Regions from separate parts of the Homo sapiens genome. Here regions 2 and 3 are each linked to region 1. The links are contacts of gene promoters, found by promoter capture Hi-C in human tissues and cell types (Jung and others, 2019). All regions are on one chromosome and are shown on one strand. The core of a region is centred on a gene start or on the middle of the fragment in contact, and the rest is flanking DNA. Distances in the headings are between cores, read along the strand shown.

Region 1 (3,698 bases), core at 708-3,207:
TTCTTACTTGAACGTTTTGCTTCCATTTCTGCAGAGGCATGGTGAACACAGTTACACCACCAAAGTGTTCCTCCTGGCTGAGTTTGCCTATCTTGTTCAGTGAAGACAACCCATGAGGACAAATGGTGTTAATGAGAAGCTTTTGCGGAGTTACAGAGATCCTCGTATTTCTTTAAAATACACCTAATAACGTTAACTCTGCAATAATTTGTAGATCATGTTAAATCTTAGCTATCTTCCTCTTGCCACCCAGTGTGCTTCAAGCCACATGGTTCAGAGCACCATTTAATGTGAAACTCCAATTTTAAAACAAAGTGAACCTTCCTTTTACAAAACCATGAGACAAGTTACAGAGTAATGACCACCCACATGACCTTGAAGTGATTTTGAGTGAGTGAGTGTAACTTCCGTGGCTGCCATTTAAATTGGATTCAAATCCAAATGGCTCCACCTCCATGTCATCAGACCTCTTGTGCCCTGATTCCCTTGGCTAAGTTCACAGTACCTTCCACATCAGGTTGTGGCAATGATTACCTGAGGTTAATACGATAAAAGCACATGGTAAGCACTCCTAAATGATAGCCAATATAAAGACTCAGTTCTCCCAATTCCAAGGGTCCCCACCATGATAGAAAAGGATCTTTTGGTAAATAGAGTATGTTTAGCTCTTGCTAGGTCTTTAAATACTTTGCTGGGGGCCAGGCACCATGGCTCACACCTGTAATCCCACCGCCTTAGGAGACTGAGGCTGGAGGATCCTTTGCGGCCAAGAGTTTGAGACCAGCCTGGGCAACACAGCAAGACCCTATTTCTACAAAAATAAAAATAAAAATTAACCAGGCTTTGTACACACTTGTAGTCCCATTACTTGGGAGGCTGAGGCAGGAGGATCCCTCAAGCCCAAGAGTTCAAAGCTGTAGTGAGCTATGATTGCGCCACTGCACTCCAGCCTGGGTGACAGAGTAAGACTCTGTTTCAAAACAACAACAACAAACAAAAACCTCAAAACCTCTTTGTTGGACTTAACTTCCAGCTCCTCCATGTAGTACCTTAGTACCCTTGCAGCCCGTTTCTCTTTTACAAGACAACAATGTTGTTATAAACTCATTTGGATGTGGTCCCGTGGAGGAGTATTTACCAGAATCTAGCTTATTTAGCGTCTTCAGAACACGGCACTTGCCTGGAATTATACTGACCCCCTCAACCCATACCAACCACCCAGAGATGGCTGTTCTTGGCTCCTCTCCCTGGGGCCCTGTCCTTCCCACATCGTCTTCTTCTTCTTTCTTCTTCTTTCTTCTTCCTTCTTCTTCCTTCTTCTTCCTTCTTCTTCCTTCTTCTTCCTTCTTCCTCTTCCTCTTCCTCTTCTTCTTTCTTCTTTCATTGAGACAGAGTCTCACTCTGTCACCCAGCCTGGAGTGCCGTGGTATGATTTCAGCTCACTGTAACTTCTGCCTTGTGGATTCAAGTGATTCTCCTGCCTCAGCCTCCAGAGTAGCAGGGACTACAGGTGTGTGCCACCACACCTGGCTAATTTTTACATTTTTAAGTAGAGACGGGGTTTCACCATGTTGGCAAGGCTGGTCTTGAACTCCTGATCTCAGGTGATCTGCCCGCCTCAGCCTCCCAAAGTGCTGGGATTACAGGCGTGAGCCACCCCACCCAGCCCTTCCCACGTATTCTGGCAGGGAATGCTGTTGTCCCCCAAGCCTACCCTAAGAGGAAGACTTCTTCTGGGGAAAGATGTTCACTGTACCCAGGCCCTGCCCTGGCTGGAGCTGGCAGGAAGGGTCCCAGAGCAGGAACTTGTGCCACTCTGCCCAAAGCCAGAGTCCCTGAGGCACACACCCCATCAGGCACCAAGGTGAATTCCAACTGCCAGTTAGTATTTAACTTTCCACATACGATTAGATTAAACATGTGGGTTCATAAAAGCATAGGATTGCAGACTGCAGTTGCAAGGGCTTAGATGGTTGTAAGGTGAAGGTGCCCAGCAGGCTGAGGCTTGTGTGCAACCCAGAAGAGAGCTCGCTAACGCCAGCAAGAAGGTTCAGAACAGCCTGGCTTTGGAAAGGAATTTCATCCTGCCCACACACTGCATAGGTAAGTCTTAGCACACATTCTTTATTTTTTGAGGAATTAAGTAACAAAGTTATCTATGTGCCTTTTCCAGAAAATGATAAAAGGAATGATTTTCCTGGTACATGGCCTGGCTCCTCATCCACTCTTCCTTCTTTCCTTCTTGTGTTTTCCTTACTCATTTCTTTGTTAATTGCCTTAGAATGAAAATTTTGAGAGTTTTTAAAATGGAGGATTCATGGTAAACGTAGGTAATCATATTGTTTTCTCTTCTTGATATAAAAATGAAAGACTTTGCTGCCTTTTATAGGCCCAGGTGATGTGAGCGATCTACCATGTTTCAAGAAAAGAAAACTTTGGGGCTGGGCGCGGTGGCTCACGCCTGTAATCCCAGCACTTTGAGAGGCTGAGGCAGGCGGATCACCTGAGGTCAGGAGATCGAGACCAGCCTGGCCAACATAGTGAAACCCCATCTCTACTAAAAATACAAAAAAAATTAGCCTGGCGTGGTGGCTGGCGCCTGTAGTCCCAGCTACTCAGGAAGCTGAGGCAGGAGAACGGCATGAACCCGGGAGGTGGAGCTTGCAGTGAGCCGAGATCACGCCACTGCACTCCAGCCTGGGCGACAGAGTGAGACTCCATCTCAAAAAAAAAAAAAAGAAAGAAAAGAAAACTCTGGACTTTGGGGTCAAATGAGTGTTACTTTCCTAATAGTGTCCTGATTGCTGTTGTCATGAATAACACACATTCATGACAGGAATGGCTGGAATTAGGGGATCATTCTGTAGCCTGGAGACAGGGCACAACTAATGACATGTGTAAGCTCAAATCATGGTCTTGATCTTATGTCTTGTACCCAGTTGAGCCAACTGGTCACAGCAATGAAAACAGTGAGTTATTGGAATGTGTGACCTCTGCTAGGACAGTCAGTGCTGGACACTGGCTTGGGTGATGTGAGTTCTAGTCCAGGCACTGTGGCCAACTTGAGAGGCTTGTGATCTTGGACAGGTGACTTAAGCCCTCTAGGCTATAGTTATTCCACCTATCAGAGAGCAAACCAGCCTAAATGATCTCCAGGGGCCCAGCCTGTGCTAGGACTCAGCAAGAAGCATTCACTGGAAATGTAGGTCCTCCTAGGTTGATACACATGAATTGCCCATATTTGACCATTTCTAACCTATATAAATGGCTATTTCATATAATTCCAGAGAACATAAATGGTAGTTGTCTTAGCATTACTAAAGTAAATGCCTATTATGATATTCTACTTAGGGGTAGGATAAGTATGTATACCAAATATGGTTTGTTTCGATTTGATTTTTGAGACAGGGTCTCACTGTCACTGCTGAGTGCAGTGGTGTGATCATGGCTTACTGCAGCCTTGACCTCCCAGGTTCAAGCTATCCTCCCACCTCAGCCTCCTGAGTAGCTGGGACTATAGGAGTGTGCCATCACATCCAGCTATTTTTTTATGTTTTGTAGAGGTGGTGTCTCGCTATGTTGTCCAGGCTGATCTCGAACTCCTGGGTTCAAGCGATCCTCCCACCTCGGCCTCCCGAAGTGCTGGGATTACAGGTGTGAACCACTGTGCCTGGCCTCCAAATATGGTTGATGTCTAT
Region 2 (3,698 bases), core at 862-3,361, 1.6 Mb after region 1:
AAGAATTCATGCAAATTCATAAGGAAAAAAAATGTATGTATGCATATATATATATATATATATATATTTTTGAGCTAAGGCCTCTCTCCATCACCCAGGCTGGAGTGAGGTAGCGCAATTTTGGCTCACTGCAACTTCTGCCTCCTAGGCTTCAAGTGATCCTCCCACCCCAGCCTACCAAGTAGCTGGAACTACAGGTGCACGTCACCATGCCCAGCCATGTAGAGACAGGGTTCTGTCATATTGCCCAGGCTGGTCTTGAACCCCTGGGCTCAAGCTATCTGGCCTCCCAAAGTGCTGAGATTACAGATGTGAGCCACTGTGCCCAGCCAAGAAAAAAAAAAATTAAGCAGGAAAAAATTGTTTACCAGAAAGTCTTGAAAATATATATAGATATATATAGATATATCACACACAAATATATATACCCACCCATACACACACATATGCACACACACACACACACACACACATATACACACATACATACTCACAGGGCCAAAAGCAAATGAAATTATCTGATAACCAGGAAATTGAAAATTAAAACAGCAATAACACAATAGTCTCCCATCAATATGGTAAAAACTTAACAGACTGATAAAAAAGCAGTGTTCACAGGGATGAAGAAGGGGAGAAATTTCCCCATTCACGCATTCTTGGTGAAAGTACAAATTGGTAAAGCTTTTCTGGCAATAATTTTTTTAAAATCACAATCATAACCTTTGAGTCAATAATTTCTAAAGAAATATACCTATGTATGTGCTGTTTATATAAAGATACTTAGGCAACACTGTGGGCAATAGAAAAAAATTAAAAACATCTAATAGGAGAGCAGTTTAAAAAACTGTGGTCATCAGTTTAAAATATTGGGCTCTTATACATGATGAAAAAAATAAATCATAGAATATTTATAGTACGCTATCACTTGTTTATTAAAACATGTATATAAGTACAGTCTACACATCTCTGCAGGTGCAAAATCTGCAGAGAAAGAACTGGAAGTATAGTCACATCCTTTCACTTTGGCTGTCAGGAATGTAATATACAAATGTTTTAGCACATGTCAAACTGAACTGTATTTATTTGTTTTCATGTCTGTCCCCCCTCTAAGCTACCACTTTTTGACAGACTGTCTTTTTTCTCCACAGGCAGTGCTCTATAAATGTCCGATAAATGGCTGCATGGTTTTCTTGCCCTTGGACCTGTCCCACTCAACATTTTAGAGGTTCAAAGAATGATACAATATTCAGTTTGAAACTCATTATCGCCATTTACTACTTGTATGACCTTGGGCTGTTAGTTAAACTCATTGAGCCTTAGTTTTCCCATCTATTATGAGAAGAAAATAATGCCTAAGTCATAGCATCACTTGAAGGATTAAATAATCAACTATATAAAAAGTTGCTAGCACAGTGCCTGGCACTGCTATGGATTCAAAACAAACCCTTCCAAACTTAGTGGCTTAAAACTATGACTATGATTTAACATGCATCTAAATCTGACTTTGGGCAGGGCTCATCAGGGACAGCTCATCTCGGCTCTACTGCTATAAGCTGGGACATCTGGATTGGTGTGAAGGATCACTCCCAAGGTGGCTCCCTCACATGGCTGGCAAGTTGTTCTGGGTGTTGGACCCTCCCCATGAAAGCCTCTCCACAAAACAGCTTGGGCTTCCTCTCAACATGGTGGCTGGATTCCAAGAATAAGCCTCTCAAGAGATATTAATAAAGTAGATGCTACCAGTTTCTTAAAACTAAGGCCTGAAAAATGGCACGATGTCACTTCACCATATGCCATTGGTCAAGCAGTTAGAGAGTCCAGATCCAATCTGCCTCTGGACACCAATTATTGACATCCCTCTAGCATGCAAAATGCATTTATGCCTCCCAGGATCCTGCAAACATCTCAACCCTTTAAATCCTGTCCAAGTGGAAATGAAGCTCCCTGAGAGTGGCCCTTTGGGTACAACATATTGAGTACTGTTCATCACCATCTGACTATTAGGAACTAAAGAGGCAAGTTACCTTTACTGACCACCACCCCCCAGACACACACAAATACACACACACACTCCACATACGATAGTGGAATAAGCAGAGGATAACCACAAGAGACACTCCCGTTAAAAGGGGGAAACAGAAGGCACAGAGCTGGCAATGGCCCCCAGAGCACTTCTGCAATCCAGCTCCATAGGTGTTGCAAATTCCTTTCTAGAGCCTAGTACTCTCCAATACTCTTGGTTGTACCCTCTGGTCTCCTGTTTCTGCTCCTGAATATCTTCCTCTTCTATAAGAATACCGAGTTGGTGATTTTGTCGGATTTTCAGTCTACTTCCTGCTTCTAGAGGTTGGAGCTCCATCTCTGTCTCTTTCAATCTAATCAGGTGGTGCTTGCAGTCAATAGAGGCTATTATTATTGTTATTAATAACATGAATAAAAATATAAAGATGCCTTACCCAATAGGTAATACTTACCAATATTTTTGGAGGACAGAATTAAATTGGTTAAACCCAACAAGATGAAATTGGGTAAGAGTAAATAAAAGTCCTGCATTTAGACTTTAAAAATCAATTTCATAATTACAGGATGAGGAGGCTTTGGCTTACTGGCATGCTTACCTCCCAGACTAAGCTGTAAGCTTTTAGTGGGAGAAAATTGGGGGGATTTAGCTGACAGCAATCTCACAATGAAACAAAAGCATGAAGAGACACACACTGTAAGTGGCATCCTGACAAAGCTGCTTGTGCTCAGGATGGTGAAGGAAATAAAACCACATCATAGGAGTAACTGTGGACAAAATGAGTGGCTTTGCCTGGAGAAGAGAAAGCCTTAGGGAAGTGGTAGAGCAAGTTATCAACTTCACGTGTTTGAAAGGCTGTCACATAAAAGAAGAAATGGACTTTGCTCCAGAGGACAGAACCAGCATGGCTAGGTGGTGGTTTCAGGAGAGCTAACTTTCATCAGAATAAAAAAGCGTTTCCCAACACCCAGAGTCCTTGCGCTCAACCTCAGTTGTCCTACTGGCATCACCTGAAGAATGTTAAATAATATGGATGCTCAAAGACCTAAAAACAGAAATATCATTTGATCCAGCACTCCCGTTACTGGGTATATACCCAAAGGAATATACATTGTTCTATTATAAAGACACATGCACACGTATGTTTATTGCAGCACTATTCACAATAGCAAAGACATGGAACCAACCCAAATGCCCATCAGTGATAGACTGGATAAAGAAAATGTGGTATATATACACCATGGAATACTATGCAGCCATAAAAAAAGAATGAGATCATGTCCTTTGCAGGGACATGGATAGAGCTGGAGGCCGTTATCCTTAGCAAACTAACCCAGGAACAGAAAACCAAATACCACATATTCTCACTCATAAGTGAGAGCTACATGATGAGAACACATGGACACACAGGAACACATGGACACACAGAGGGGAACAACACACACTGGGGCCTATAGGAAGGTGAAGGGTGGGAGGAGGGAGAGGATCAGGAAAAATAACTAATGGGTACTAGGCATAATAACTGGGTGATTAAATAATCTACACAACAAACCCCCATGACACAAGTTTACTTATGTAACAAACCTGCACATGTAACTTAAACAAAAGTTTAATAATAATAATAAACTTAACTTAAAACAAAAGTCTAATAATAATATTGATGCCAGCAGCTTCCCCA
Region 3 (3,698 bases), core at 524-3,023, 1.4 Mb after region 1:
CCAGGCACAAAAGACAAATGTCACATGTTCTCACTCACGGAATTCACAAAGGTAGAGAGTACAATGGTGGTAACCAGAGGCTGGGAAGGGAAGAGGGGAAAGGGAGATGAAGAGAAGGTGGTTAAAGGGCACAAAAACTCAGAAGAAATAACTTCTAGTATTTGGAAGTACCGTAGGAAAATTATAGTTAATAATTTATTGAATGTTTCAAAATAGAAGAGAAGAATTATAATGTTCCCAAAACAAAGAAAAGATAAATGTTTGAGGCGATGGATGTCCCAGTTACCCTGATTTGGTCATTACACGTTGTATACAGGTATCAAAATATTACATGTACCCCAAAATTTATACAACGCTTATATATCAATAAATTAAATTAAGTTAAATAAACAGGAAGCACCAGGAGGAACTCCTGATGCATTTTATGCTTAAAACAAAAAATCCTAGGTCTTTCCATAGATAAATCTAAGAATGATGATAAATATGGTGGAAACAGGGTCTCTTGGTGCTCCAAATATCGTTTCCCAAAACAAAGGAACAGGACATCCCAGAGTAATGGCTGACTCCGGGCCTGAAACAGGGTATGTAGAAGAGGGCCCTTCAATGCACCGTCACACTGGAAAGCAAGGAAGCCATCAAAGACAGCCAGAGTGCTTCAAAGGACTCAGAAATCAACTTATGAGGCCCCACTGGTCAAGGATGGCACAAGGTGAGCATGAGTAAGGACACTAACTGTAACAGATGGAAACATACCAAATAGATTTCATCCAAAATTTCATAAGAACACTGTAAAATCACTGACTGCCTTTGGAGAAGACTAGTAAACCAATTTGTTATTTTGAGAACTGATGAGTAAAGAGAGTGTCAAGCACATACCCTGCCTTTCCTACACAAAGAGAAAAACCAGACATTACGTCCCCCACAGAAGAACCAACCCCACCTGTAAAATAACCTTGCTGAAAAGTGTGAACCTTAGTCCATTTAAGCATTTGGATCTAATACCAGCTCATAGGAAATCCAGGTAACAGAAGAACATGTTAAATGACACCACAGGTGTCTACATCTGGGGAAGCATCAGCAAAATACAAACTAGGGGGAGGCCTGAAGGTTAAAAGGTAAAGAGCAAGGGAAAATATAGATTAAAAAAGACATAAGAGGCATGTTAGCAAATCACACTATATGGGTCTTAGTTGATACTTTTTCAAATAAATAAAAGGTTAAAAATTACAGTACAATCAAGGAAATGTAAACACTCGCTGGATACTTAGTGATGTTGAGGGAATATTAAAGTGAGATAATATTGTGTTTTTATTTAAAATGGGGAGCCTATGTCTTTAGAAATATGTTTAGATAAAATAATATGATGCTTGGGATTTGCCTCAAAATAACCTGGAGGGGAGGTGCTATGTGTTGCTTCTGTGTTGCTGCTCAAATCTCATGTCAAATTGTAACCCCCAGTGTTGGAAATGGGGCCCGGTGGGAGGAGATTGGATCATGGGGACAGATTTTCCCCTTGGTACTGTCCTTGAGATAGTGAGTTCTCATGAGATCTGGTTATTTAAAAGTGTGTGGTACCTGCCCCACTTCCCTTCTTCCTTCTGCTCTGGCCATGTGAGATATCTCACTCCCCCTTTGCCTTCTGCCACGATTGGAAGCTTCCAGAGGCCCCTCCAGAAGCAGAAGTTGCTATGCTTCCTGTACAACCTGCAGAACCGTGAGTCAATTAAACTTCTTGTGTTTATAAATTACCCAGTCTCAGGAGTACTACCTGAGACCTGTATAAATTACCTAATACAGGAGGTACTGGAGGTACAGAGAATATGAGATTGTCCACAAGTTGATTGTTGTTAAAGCAAATTGTTGGAAACATGGGAGTTCATTATACTCTACTGTTGCACATAAGTATTTGAATTTTCCCATAATAAAAAGTTTGTGCAAAAAAAGATTTTTTAGTATGGGAAGTCGTTTTTCAAGTTACAAGATAATCACTCTCGATAATCACTCTTAATCTCCTGAGTGAAGAAGCTATATTAGTTAGGGTTCTCCAAAGAAAGAGAAGCAGTAGAAATATGAGTTATACAAGAGGGATTTATTATAGGAATCAGCTCATGTGATTATGGAGACCAAGAAGTCCACCACCTGCTGTCTGCAAGCTGGCCACTCAGGAAATCCAGTGGTACAAATCAATCTGAATCCAAAGCCTGAGAATCAGGAGTCCTGATGTCCAAAGGCAGGAGAAGATTGGATGTTCCAGCTCAAAAAGAAAGAGTGAATTCACCCTTCCTCTACCTTTTCATAATATTTGAGCCCTCAACAGGTTGATAATCCCCACCTGTATCAATGACAACAATCTTCTTTACCCTGTCTACTAATTCAAATACTGATCTCTTCCAGAACACCCTCATAGATACACTCGGAAATAATTTTTTATCAGCTATCTGGGTATCCCTTAACCCAGTCAAGTTGACATATAAAATTAACCATCACAGAAGCCTAATGAAAACACGACGGAGACACATCCTTGGTTGTTCTGTGTGTTCTATAACCAAGGCTGTTTGGGGGGTCTGAGGCAGGAACCCCACTTCAAAGCTTTGCTGTCAGAACTTCAAGAGCCAGACACATCCAAAAGTCAGCTCTGACTACCAACCATCTTCCATGACAGCCAGGGTCAGATTCAGCAAGGATGACAGTCCAGGGAGGTTGTTCCTTATAGTAACAATTTTTTTTTGTTAAGAAACTACAATATATATAGTCTGCTCATTCATATATATAAATATTATTTATCAAAATAGTAATATTTTATTAAGTTTTAAAAATTAAAACTCTGATCTCTGAATGAAATGTAAATTCCTAGGTCTAATACATAAGGACTGCAGAATAAAGTATAGTGGAACTTCTTTTTTAATCCAAAAGAAAACTATTAAGAAGTAAATATCAACTAAAAGGAGAAAAGAATAAGTCCTAAGTTAATGGATAGAATTTATATTTTCTTCAACCATATAATCAGGGTATAAAAAGATTGATGAGCAGCTTAACGTCTATTGAGAAGAAAAATAATTGGAAAGTTCTTGAGTTATACATATGTTTGCTCTTCCATTCTCAACTTTCACTGGCTTTTTACCAAATTCCAGTGAACCATACCTTGGTAGCATCTCCTTAAATTAGTGAAAAGAAATATAAGACAGACTATTTGAAAATTAAAATAAATAAGAGCAAAGTCTCTCCTATGCATTTGGTGAGTAGGTTTACGGAATTCAGTATTCCCAGGAGGAAGGAGAGCTGTGAGGCCATTAGCAGATGACAGAATCATAAAGAATTATTGAGAAAGATTTTGGCTGGGCCAGTCTTTGTCCTGAGTTTGATATCATAGCCTCCAAGAAAAATGACCTTAGACTTCACCCACAGTAACAACCTGACTATGACTTCTTCTGAGAGAGTTGGTTCTAAAGAAAGATCAAGTGCTAAATAAAGATCTCATTATAGATCGTTATAGATCATTCCATCACAGTTAGAGTCACCTTCCATCCATCCTGTCAGAAAAGATATTTCTGGAGCATCACAGATCACATTAACATGGCCAGATAAGAATACGATCCCAAGAGATTCCTCCTAACCACTCCCACCAATAACCAGTCTAATATGCTTTCCCTAAAGGGTCTTCCAACCAGGAGGTCACATGCTCCAGAAGCAGCCCATCC

Evidence for each region. Contacts are between HindIII fragments. The study calls those that stand out against the background at their distance.
Region 2: a contact is called between a fragment that was not itself captured here and the fragment with the promoter of KCNE2 in region 1, in 1 of the 25 tissues and cell types used here (dorsolateral prefrontal cortex).
Region 3: a contact is called between a fragment that was not itself captured here and the fragment with the promoter of KCNE2 in region 1, in 1 of the 25 tissues and cell types used here (dorsolateral prefrontal cortex).

Annotation. Positions count from the first base shown.
Region 1 is chr21:34,362,049-34,365,746 of GRCh38, forward strand. It overlaps KCNE2 (potassium voltage-gated channel subfamily E regulatory subunit 2), which reads left to right and starts at 1,958. Exons shown (of 2, transcript NM_172201.2): 1 at 1,958-2,103. All of the region lies in intron 2 of LOC105372791 (a long non-coding RNA gene), which reads right to left. The HindIII fragment of the contact is 19,800 bases long and covers 1-3,698 here.
Region 2 is chr21:35,917,758-35,921,455 of GRCh38, forward strand. No RefSeq gene overlaps it. Among named protein-coding and RNA genes, the nearest start is that of LINC01436, 86 kb to the right of the region's middle. The HindIII fragment of the contact is 6,106 bases long and covers 1-3,698 here.
Region 3 is chr21:35,758,556-35,762,253 of GRCh38, forward strand. No RefSeq gene overlaps it. Among named protein-coding and RNA genes, the nearest start is that of MIR802, 40 kb to the left of the region's middle. The HindIII fragment of the contact is 3,423 bases long and covers 63-3,485 here.